Regions from separate parts of the Homo sapiens genome. Here region 2 is linked to region 1. Evidence: promoter capture Hi-C in 16 types of primary human blood cells and fetal thymus (Javierre and others, 2016). All regions are on one chromosome and are shown on one strand. Each heading gives the region's core, a stretch centred on a gene start or on the middle of the fragment in contact. The rest is flanking DNA. Distances are from core to core; before and after follow the strand shown.

Region 1 (5,409 bases), core at 1,970-4,469:
AAAGGTTATGACTCACTTGAGACTCAGATGATTGTTAACATTTTTTAGCAATAAAGTATGTTTTAATTAATAATCTGTACTTTTTTTGGACATAATGCTGTTGCACACTTAATAGGCTACCATACAGTGTAAACGTAATTTTTATATGCACTGAGAAACCAAAAGATTTGTGTGGCTTGCTTTATTGTGTGGTCATAAACTGAACCCATGACATCTCCCAGCTATCCCTGTACCTGTCTCATAGGGTTGCTACAAATGTCAAAGGAGATCAGGCTTGTAAAACAGCCTTAGCAGAGGTCTTGGTACAAAGGAAGCACTCAGTTGATAAAGGATTACTGTTATCTCTTTTTGTTTTAAAAAGATATCCAGTATTCTTCTTCAGGAACTGATTATAATCTCAAATAGTAGTCAGTCCCAGGAAGTGTTTTTATAAATCTAACCCACATTTTATCTACTCTAGAACTTTTGCCCATCTGCTGAACCTTTAATCCATTTCTTTTTATTTAATCCTCATTAGACATTTAAAAAACAACTAATGATTACCCCTGAAGAATAAAAATATAACACTTCCTTAGTAATTCTAGTTCTAGTTTCATAGGTCTGATTTCCCTGTGCACTAGTTATTATGTCTCACCTTTATGCTTCTGTGCATGTCTACAGTTGAAGAGCAAAGAGCTGAACACAGGATTCTAAACAAGGATTTCATCGTCATTTCATTTATCCATTGAGTAAAATGTTTACGGAGCACCCACAATATACTAAACACTGTGCCTGGAAGTAGACATATAGCAGTAAACGAGATTAAGTTGTTGCTTAACGCAGTTTACATTGTAGTAGGAGAGAGAGAAAAATGAGATGTAAAGAAATAAATGTGATACTGACTAGTCATAGTTTGACAAAATTGGAATGGGGGAATAAGCTAGCCAGTGGTTGAGTTTGGGGAAGGAGCACTTGAGCAGAACGGTCAGGGAAGGCCTTTCTGAGGAAGTGAGTTGAGCCAAAACTTGAATTACAAGAAGTTGGCTTGGCTATGCAGCAATCTAAGGGAGAAGTGTTCCAGGCTAGGGAACAGCAAGAGTAAAGGCTGTGAAGTAGAAACTAGCTTGGGGTTTTTGAGGAACAGAAAGAAGGCCATGTGTTTCTGAAATCTGGTGGGTAGATAGTCTGTAGGGTGTTGGGAGGAAGGTATGTTTAGCAATGAGGGCAGACAGATAGACAGGAGCCATGTCCTACAGGGACTTGATAGTGTCGAATTCTAAGGATGATGGGAAACCATAGAAGGGTTTAAACCAGGTGATGGTAGTTGAGATTTTTGAAAGATAACTCTAGTGTGATCTAGTGTGAGAATGGACTATAGGGAAGACCAGACAGCAGGTGGGCAAGGAAAAGTGAATACAAGAGACTGGGAAGGAGCTGCCAGTGAGGCAGGAAGAAAACAAGGACAACATTTTCATGGAAGTCTTAAAAAGTCAGTCTTTCGGTATGAGGAGGGGAGATGGGAGAGGGCAGTAGGTAACAGAAAATCGACTCCTGGTTGTAGCAAGATAGAGCTTAGTGGCGTCCTTTAAGAGCCATTTCAGTGGAGTCAAGGGAGAAGGGAATAGAGGCTGAGGGAATAGGGGTAGCAATACATGTAGAAGATAAAGTATCACTGGGAGGGGAAGCAGAGAAATGATGAAGAGGATGGAGGGGGACCTAGGGTCAAGGGAGGATGATGTTAAGGTATGTGTGTGTGTGGACTGGAATGATACCACAGGGAGGGAGGATTTGATAATGCAGGAGAGTGGATCTTTGTAGGGGCCGTGTACCTCATTATGGGAGAGGGGCTGGATCTCTAGCTCAAGGAGAAGATTGACTTTAGGTAGAATTGAGGTTCCTTCTTTTCCTGTAACAGGAGGAAAGGCAGAGTATGTAGAATAGATGTACCCAGATTGAAAGAGGCAAAAATGGAAGCCTTACCTTCATGTTGACAGTGCTTGTGCCTTGGTGGGTCTTTGTGGTATATCATGGCCTCAAGCTCTGTTTTTGCAGGTCCACTGAGTTATTTGTGCTATATATATTCTTTTCCTACCCAGGCCATCTATCTCAGATACAGATCTGTTTACATGTCTGTCTCCCCCACTAAACTGGCATCTCTTCAACAAGAGTAGTTATCTTTGTATCTCCAGACATAGCTCAGTGTTTGGCAAGAACTGAGTTGAAGGAATGACAGCTACATCAGTAGAAAGGACTCATATAACAGCTACACAAACATGCGGTAGAAAGGAAAGTAATTCAAGAGCATGAATAAAATTAAGTGTTTATATCTTAGAATAATTAATATGATTTCTCTCTTTTAAGTGGAATACATTGTTACTGAACACCAGAATTGAGGGGTAGCTAAAAGTAAAAAAAAAAAAAAAAGAAAGAGAAAGGATCACCTCACACCTCACTACCATCTGGAAAGAAGATGAGCTTTTAACAGCCCCTTTCAGTAGGGACGAGTTAGTGCCTGGCATGCTTTGGTGGGAAGCACATTTCTAGGTTCAGGAGAAAGTGAGAATCAAACGTGTCTGGGAAAAGGAGATCCCAGTGTGATCAGCTTGCTTGTGGAAGATTAGCAGGGGTTGGGGGCGTAGAGGGCTTCGGGCAAGAGTAAATGTTAATGAGAGATGGCTTAAGCAGACTTGTGCCCAAACGAGTGAGAACAATTTGACAGGAAGTTCAGTTGAGCATGTGTAGCACTTCTCCAAATGCTTTCTTCTTGGACTGGGAAGAAACACAACAAAACAAAATAGTTACTTTCCCCTTCAACATTATACAGCACATCCTAAATGAAACATGACTTTCTGAGTTACAAGCTGCCCCTGGCAAAAAGGCTGGTTATAATCTCAGTGTGTTCCCTGAAACTAATGTTCCTTGGGCACTCCAGATTTGTGTGACGTACTGTAAGTTATATCCAACTGAACTGTTCTTTTAACTGCCTGCATTAAGCATCATCAAATAAGTTGCGCTGAAAGGAACCACCTGAATAAAGAAGCTTTTATACCTTTGTAAGTCCTCACTGCATGACCCTAGGTCACTGCTGTTGAACTTGGGAGCTTTCTCTCCCACTTTTCACTCTCTTGCCTTTAATGGATGGGGGTCTCCACACCAGGTTTTCTTTCTCTCTCATCTGCCAGGTGCTAGCAAATGGTGCTGCCAGCCTCATTAGGGGAGAGGGGGTAGTGTGGAGGCAGGCACTGGCCCCTCCCTCATGTGCCCCGCTTCCCAGAGGCCTATGGGATACCAACTGAAAAGAGGTCGTGAGCAGAGCTGCTCACCCTGGAATTCATTTTCTCTAGACTCATTAAAATGCTGCCTTCCTATCTCCCTTGGATTTTTACTTTTCAAAACACTTTACGATGTGCGGCCTCATTTTATTTTACATTAAGCTGACAACCTAACATCTCACCAAGTATCAACTGGGAATACAATTTTGCACTCACTGTGCTGTGCCATCTTGCCAAGTTTTGTCTTTGTTACTCAGCTCTCATTCAGAAAGGAATTAATTTGAATTATATGATGCTATGGTTGTCTCCTTGAAGAAGGGCTAGATTCCTGCACACCTTGGGAAAGTATCTATCTGTGAATGTACTTGAATCTTCCAGGTTATATGCCATTCTTCTCTCTTCTTTCCCTTTCACATCATCATGGGCTCCTCTCACGTTAGAATAAACCTTTCTGTTTTGCCTCTCCCTACTCAATGGGATTTCCATTGTTTCTGTCTTCACTTCCTTTTACCTGGGAGAAGCTGATACTGATGGAAAGGCATTTTTGAGTCTAGATATAAAGCTCTTTGTTTAAAGAGCATTTTTAAAAGAAGGGAATTTTTACATTGCCAAAGGTACCCAGGTGTTGCCTTCCTTCCCCATGAGGATTTTGCACAGAGCGCACATTCATACCCACTATCTCTTAGTGTCAGCCTGTGTGATGGCTATATGCTGTCTACCAACACTACAGTCTGTTTGGGAAGCGCCAAATCTTGGGTAGGCACTGGATCTAAAACTGGCACTGGAATCATCCACTCAGAGGAAGAAAGATTGAGGTCAGGTGGGGAATAAGACAGGCAAGTTGTCAGGCTTCTTTTCAGATGGTTCTCAGAGTACACTTCCATTACTTAGAACAGTGGGTTTGGTGGGGGGTTTTGGCGTGTTCTATAGCTGAGCTACAAGCAAAATTAGAGCTTTTTACTTATATACTACTTTGCATGGAGGTAGTCTCAGGGTCCCAGTTACAGCACTGATTTCTTGAAAAGAGTTTGATGTTCTGGCCCATGCTTAATTTAAATGAGAGGCTAAAAGCAGATTGTGTAACCCACCAATGCCCATTTGACAGGACTTGCACCAATCTGACCTACACTTTCATAAGAGCTCCTAAGCAGAGTGCTGTACTGTGGGTCTTCTGCCTTAACTCCAGGAATGGCAGAGATGAGCTACTGTTTATTGAGCACCGACAAAGGAGAGGTACTCTGAGTGTTGAATGCATGCTGTCTCTCAGCCCACAAGAGCCCTGCAAAGGAAGTGCATTGCTCCCCGTATTTATGGATGAGGAAGCTGAGTATCAAGAAGCTTGCTCAGAATCATGCAGCTAGCAAGGAGCAAGGCAGGGTTTCAGAGCTACGTTTATCTGTTTCCAAAGAGTACACTCTCCCCTCAATTCCCAGTAGTACTTCTCCAGTAAATCTTAAGTATTGTATTGCTTTTTTCCCTTCTATTTCTCTTAGCAGTCTATAGAAAAGAGCGTTTATTTAAAGATTTTAGTGCTCATCTGGGCATAGTGACTCATGCCTGTAATCTCCACACCTTGGGAGGCCGAGGCAGGAGGATCGCTTGAGCCCAGGAGTTCCAGACCAGCCTGGGCAACATGACGGAACCCTTTCTCTACCAAAAATACAAAAGTTAGCTGGGCATGGTGGTGCACACCTGTAGTCCCAGCTACTCAGGAGGCTGAGGCAGCGGGATTGCTTGAGCCCGAGAGGTGGAGGTTGCAGTGAGCCGAGATCACGCCACTGCACTCTAGCCTGGGCGACAGAGCCAGATCCTGTCTTTTAAAAATAAAAATAAAAATAAAAAAAGATTTTAGTGCCCCCTATAACTTGAGGCTTGGATTCTGAAGTGAAAGTTGTTGTTCTGAGAGGTGTTGATTGAGCAGTAGTAATACCAACTACATCAGTGGGACTTGGTGGCCCAGTCACACGGATGCAGTCAGAAAGGGAGTGTTACCTCATAAAGCAGTGATTCAAGCCTGGGCTTGGATTTTAAAATGTTGGAAAGTTGTGAAGAAATGGGATTTTTTTTTTCTTCCAAAGATTGTAATAACTTTGCCATTGTACCATTAACATAGTCACCACCTCATGTTTGTCATGTAACCAATTTATGTTTTTACTAA
Region 2 (5,409 bases), core at 1,092-3,591, 340 kb after region 1:
AGGCTCATATGCTAGGCTGTTTTATCTGGAGATGAACATATATTTAAAAACTAAGAGAAAATGGCTCAAGGCAGTTTTTGCCACAAGAATAATGAAATGACTTGCTCTTTCAAACATCATTTCATTTCAGTAGCTGAAAGCAGATGGCATTAACCACTTGGTACCTGGGGCAGTCTTTAGGGTCCAAAAACCCCTAAGGAGGCACCTGCACTGCTGGCGGGCCCCTCCACCTCCTCCAGCCTCTACACGGCTCTCAGGGGAAGAGTGCTGTGCTGGTACGAAACTTCTGTTTTGGGAACGACCTTATCCTCCTTTCAGTAGGCTCCTGATTTGTTTGGCTTTCTCTTTCAGCATTTCCCAATCCTTTAAAAGATTATCTTCTCAAACAGAGCAGTCTCCTACAAAACCAGCTCCAAAGTTAAAGTAGAGATGACAAAAGGGGAGGCACGCATTCCATCCAGGAGCTGCTGAAGACACAGCCTGGGCCCATGGGGGTAACTCAGTTGCCAGGCTCCTGACACATGGCTCACCAGGGAGCTGTGGCCTGTTTAGCCTCCCTGAAGGCACCTTTGCAGGCAAGAGTCAGTTCATCCAAGTCACAGAATGTCCGAGTGGCAACGTGGTCAGGGGGCATCAGACTATAAATGCCACACATCTCTCTCCAGAGAAACACCTGGAAAAGAAAGGAACATTTTCCCCATCTTTCCCAACTGACCTTTCAATCAACACACTGGGATCACAGGGAGTATGAAGATGAGAAACTGGGGTAGGGAGAGACCTGTAACTTAGTTTCAACCCTGCTTCCACAGCAAGTCCCTTAACAGCTGAACTACACATTCTCTTTCAGGATAATACAGCATGGAGTGTGAGCTTTAGACCCAAGTACTGAATTCAGGTTCCTGCTGCCCTGTTTTGACAGTTATGTGGCTCAGGCCATTTAACCTTGAAGAACCTCCGCTGTGTCTGCTCTAAGATGGGGCTGTTACGGGCATAAATGAAAACCGTGCCTGTGAAGCACCCGGCATGTGCTCAAGGAAGGCTGGTTGGTCCTGGGATGATTCTTCGGGGTGGGGTCATCCCTTTTGCCATTTTGCCCTACACGGTGCAGCTGACATGCTTGGCATTATGACTCTGACCCCCTTCCCCCATCATGTCTGTTCCTTCCTCCTCCATTCACACAACATTTTTTCTGCCCCACTTGCTTTTACCTCCCCATCTAGATTCTGGTTCCATTCTCCTTTGAGAAGTCACTGCCGACAAAAGAGAACGAATGTGGAAATCTTCCTCTGAACATATGATGTACAAGTTTCCTCTCTCCCCCTCCACAAGCCTGTCTTTACAGACTATAAATGCATGCTAAGTGACAAGCTAAGTAAAAATTTCTGAAGATATGCAAATTTCAGAGAAATCTGAATTAAATATACAAAGACTATATAGTGCAGCCTGGAAAGTACTCAGTGGTTAGGGACACCATGAAAGGGACACGGAAACTTTCCAAGGACATCAGAGAGGAGCTCCTCTACAGGTACAGCTGAGTATTCTGCAAGCCTCTGTCACAAACAGAGGCAGAGCATGTGTTGCCAAGTTTGGTCACGTACTGATTGTTTGTTGAAAAGCCTCATGTCTATTTCCCCAAGACTGTCAGGCTGGGAGCTGTAGTGAAAGGAAGAGCAGGAGAAAGGAATGGGCTGTAGACATTCTGCAAACAATCTATGTTTTCACCCAAACTGTGCCAGCATCACATGCACTTGTTTTATGTGCTTGTTTTAAGAATGAAGTTTCTCTAAGGGCTTCTTGTTTTCACCACGATAACTCAAAAAGGTCATTCCGAGGAGCTTAGAAGTACAAGCATGCTTTTGCCCCGTTTCCACAAAATCTGAACTGCAAGGTCAGAAGTCCTACAATGTCTGCTGTCCACTGTTATAAGACTGTGTGGTGTGGGTGGGGGTGGGGGCGGGCAGAGAAGCTGGCTTCTTGATTCTCCATGTTTAAAGTTAGTTTATTTAAAAACACCTGCCCTGAAGGGGAAGAGGCTTATTCAGTATAGAAAAATATTTTCTGCAGACATGAGTTCAAATCTGAAGTCAGACTACACACTATAGTGAAAGCCCTACTGAATGGATAGCCCACTAAAGGACTCTACAAATCTCCTGTGTGGAAGGTATTAATAACCACATAGCCCAGTTCCATTTCACTTGGGGGTGTAGGAGAGGGGGCTCAGATATGATGACTTCACCTAATGGTTACAATTTGGGTATAAAAAAACACCCCATGAACAGCTGGGCATGGTGGCTCATGTCTGTAAGCCCAGCATTTTGTGGGGCTGAGGCAGGAGGATCACTTGCAACCAGGAGGTCAAGGCTGCAGTGAGCCATTATTGAGCCACTGCACTCTAGCCTGGGCAAAAGACCAAGACCCTGTCTCAAAACAAAACAAAACACCCTACGAATGGAGCCTGAAAATCACTAAATCTAATGACCCTTTTCAATTATCACTTAGAACCTCTAGAAAGCTGACTACTCCTGTGGGCTCTGTGACATCTGCTTACCTTGTTTTCCTTCTCTTTCTCTGATAGCTCTTCATCTGCTATCCTTGAAATATTAGCATTATTCAGTGCTGGACCTTCTTTTTGTCTTAATCCTACACTCTTCACACTCTTCTTCAAGGTTAAAATTCTAACTATGTATGCTAACAATTCTGAAATTTATCTCTCTGCCCCAGACCTCTCTTTGGAGCTCCATATCTGTGTATTCAATTATCTACTTGGCATCTCAGGTATTTCAGACTTGAGATGTCTAACATAGGACACTTGCTACTTCCTCACAAATCTGCTTCTTCTTCAATGTCTCCCATTCTAAGAGAATAGGGCCACCATGCAGCCAGTGGCTCATGACACAAACCTGGAGTCATCACTGATACCTTACTTACTCTTCACATTCAATTACCGAGTCTTGTGGATACGATTTCCAAAAATCAAATCCATTCACTTCTTGCCATCTCTACTGCCACCACCTAGTCAAAGCCGCCAGAATCTTTTTTTCCAGGGCTACTGCAATAGCCTCCTTTAGGTGGTCGCCCCATATCAAATCCACCTTCCTCAGAGCAGCCAGCGTCATAAGCCACCACCTAGTCAAAGAGACCAGTAACTTTTTTCCGAGGCTACTGCAACAGCTTCCTTTAGGTGGTCGCCCCACATCAAAGCCACCTTCCTCAGGGCAGCCAACATGATGAGATGATGAGATCCAGCCCTGTCTGTGATTACCGTGCTCCACTGATTACAATAAAAATTTCCCCACTGAAGCACGATCTCAACCCTGGCTGCCGCTTCCCCTTGTGCCATTTACTCCCTTGCATTCTATGTCCCAGACACACTGACTTCCAAAGGAAATTCTTGCTTACTCAGGCCTTAGCTTCAATGACTTCCTCAGGAAGATCTTCCTGGACCCTCAGACTAGGTTAGGGCCCAGTTGGATGCTTTCAAGGCATCTTGAACTTTTCCTTCAATCACTAGTCACAATTTTAATTTAGCGTCATTTGTGGAATTTGTTCATTTAATTTGTCTCCTTGGCTAGATTTCATAAAATCAAGCACCATGCTTCTGTAATTTATCACATATCCTCTATCCCTAAAATACTGCTTGGTTCACTCAAAATATTTTGGTCAGGTAAATGAATGATAGGTTAGGTATAGAAAGACTGTGTTCTCTGAACCCTAGGGAGCAAGCAAAGGCCAATCAGGTATTCAAGGGGCGAAATCCAATATCCTCACCTCAACCTCTACAGCATTTGTCCACTTTTCTGTTTCTTAAAATACTTTTATTTTTCATCTTCTGTGATGTCACACTCCTTTCTTCCCACCTGACCAACTGCTGCTCCTTGGAATCCTTCATGGTTTCTCCTCTAAAATCACCCAGCATCACGTCCTCCTGCATTTTCTCCTTTAGGTAATTTCATCCAGATCCAAATAGGGTATCCATGCTGATGCCTCTTGAACTTATATTTCCATCTATGAATTCCCCTCAAATCCAAATCCCGATATCCAATGGCCTACTTGACAAACACGTCTGACTAGAATAATGCTAGGAATCTCAACTGTACCATGTTTGAAACAACTCTTCATCTTCTTGACCTCTGTTAGTTTATCTCCTCATCTTCTCTGCCTCAGTGTGAGTGGCAATATATCCACCCAGCTGCTGTTCAAGTCAAACTGTGGGCTCAATTCTTGATTCCTCTCTTTTCCTTACTCCTCACACTGACTTTATTAGAGGTCTAGTTAGATCTAAATGATGTCCTGAATCGGCTCTGCACCTCTTCTCATGCAAATGTCCTGTGGCAGGAATAAGCTCAGCATACTGATGGAAGAGAAAGGCAGCCAGCAGGGCTGGAATGCGGTGAGGCCGATGGCTCCACCAGGCTGCTAGAGCTCAGGCGTGTTGCCTGCTTCTGCCTTTGCTGCCCTCCAAGCCGTCCCCCTCCCAGCAGTTGGAGGGAACTTCTGGATTTAAAAAAAAAAAATTGACCTGAGATGTACTTGTTTTGTATTTGTTCATTCTTACTTTGCCTATTTAAAGGTAGTACATGAATATAATAAAAATTCAAATTGTATAAAATGATATTTAGCAGAAAGTAAGTCTCCCATCTCATTCTGTTACCCTCTCCAGAAGCCCAGCAACCACCACCACTGTCTATTTTTATGTATTCTTGAGAGTCCATGCATCTGTGCATACACAAGCATGTGTTTCTCTCCCAGAGAAATATATTTTTCTTTTTTTTTTCTTTCTTTAATAGAGACAAGGTCTCACTATGTTGCCCAGGTTGGTCTCCAACTCCTGAGCTCAACTGATACTCCCACCTCCGCGTCCCCAGTGCTAAGATTACAGCTGTGAGTTACCGTGCCTGGCTCTCCAGGGGAATATTTTTAAAATTTAAGTCAGATCACTCCTTTGCTTAAAACCATTCAATGCCTTCTCACTATGTTTACAATAATCAGATTCTTTGCAAAGACATGCAAGCCCCCGACTGATCCCTGCTGCGTCTCCACTCTCCTCCCGCAACGCACTGTGCTCTGGCCGGGCTGGCCAGCTTTCTCTTCCTCAGATACACCAAGTTTGTTCCTCCCTCCAGGGCCTTTGTTCTGTCTAGGGCACTGCTCTCCCAACTCTCTGAATGGCTGGCTCTCCCAGCTTTTATGTTCAGCTCAGCTTTCATGTCCTCCCAGGTGCTGGCCTCCCCCTTCCCTATTTGCAGCTCCCCCTTTCCCTTATCACACTGTCATTTTATTACATCATATCTCCTGCTCCCATCAGAAATTACCTTGTTTATCTGTTCCCTTGCTTACTGCATCTCTCCCCTAAAGAATAAAAGCACCAAGAGGTCAGGGACTTTTGTCAGTTTTACCCCTTGCTCTTCC

Evidence for each region. Contacts are between HindIII fragments. The CHiCAGO score rates a contact against its expected background, and 5 or more counts as called.
Region 2: a fragment that was not itself captured here is called in contact with the fragment with the promoter of BTBD9-AS1 in region 1 in 1 of 17 cell types (M2 macrophages); the score reaches 6.5 in M2 macrophages.

What each region holds. Positions count from the first base shown.
Region 1 is chr6:38,479,406-38,484,814 of GRCh38, reverse strand. It overlaps BTBD9-AS1 (BTBD9 antisense RNA 1), which reads right to left and starts at 3,219. Exons shown (of 2, transcript NR_144472.1): 1 at 3,029-3,219; 2 at 2,288-2,748. All of the region lies in intron 6 of BTBD9 (BTB domain containing 9), which reads left to right. The HindIII fragment of the contact is 1,570 bases long and covers 3,022-4,591 here.
Region 2 is chr6:38,137,523-38,142,931 of GRCh38, reverse strand. The region is part of intron 5 of ZFAND3 (zinc finger AN1-type containing 3); the gene reads right to left. LOC124901314 (a long non-coding RNA gene) reads right to left here. Exons shown (of 2, transcript XR_007059570.1): 1 at 5,313-5,409; 2 at 1-4,494. Among named protein-coding and RNA genes, the nearest start is that of ZFAND3, 320 kb to the right of the region's middle. RefSeq lists an enhancer at 3,921-4,765. The HindIII fragment of the contact is 6,946 bases long and covers 1-5,409 here.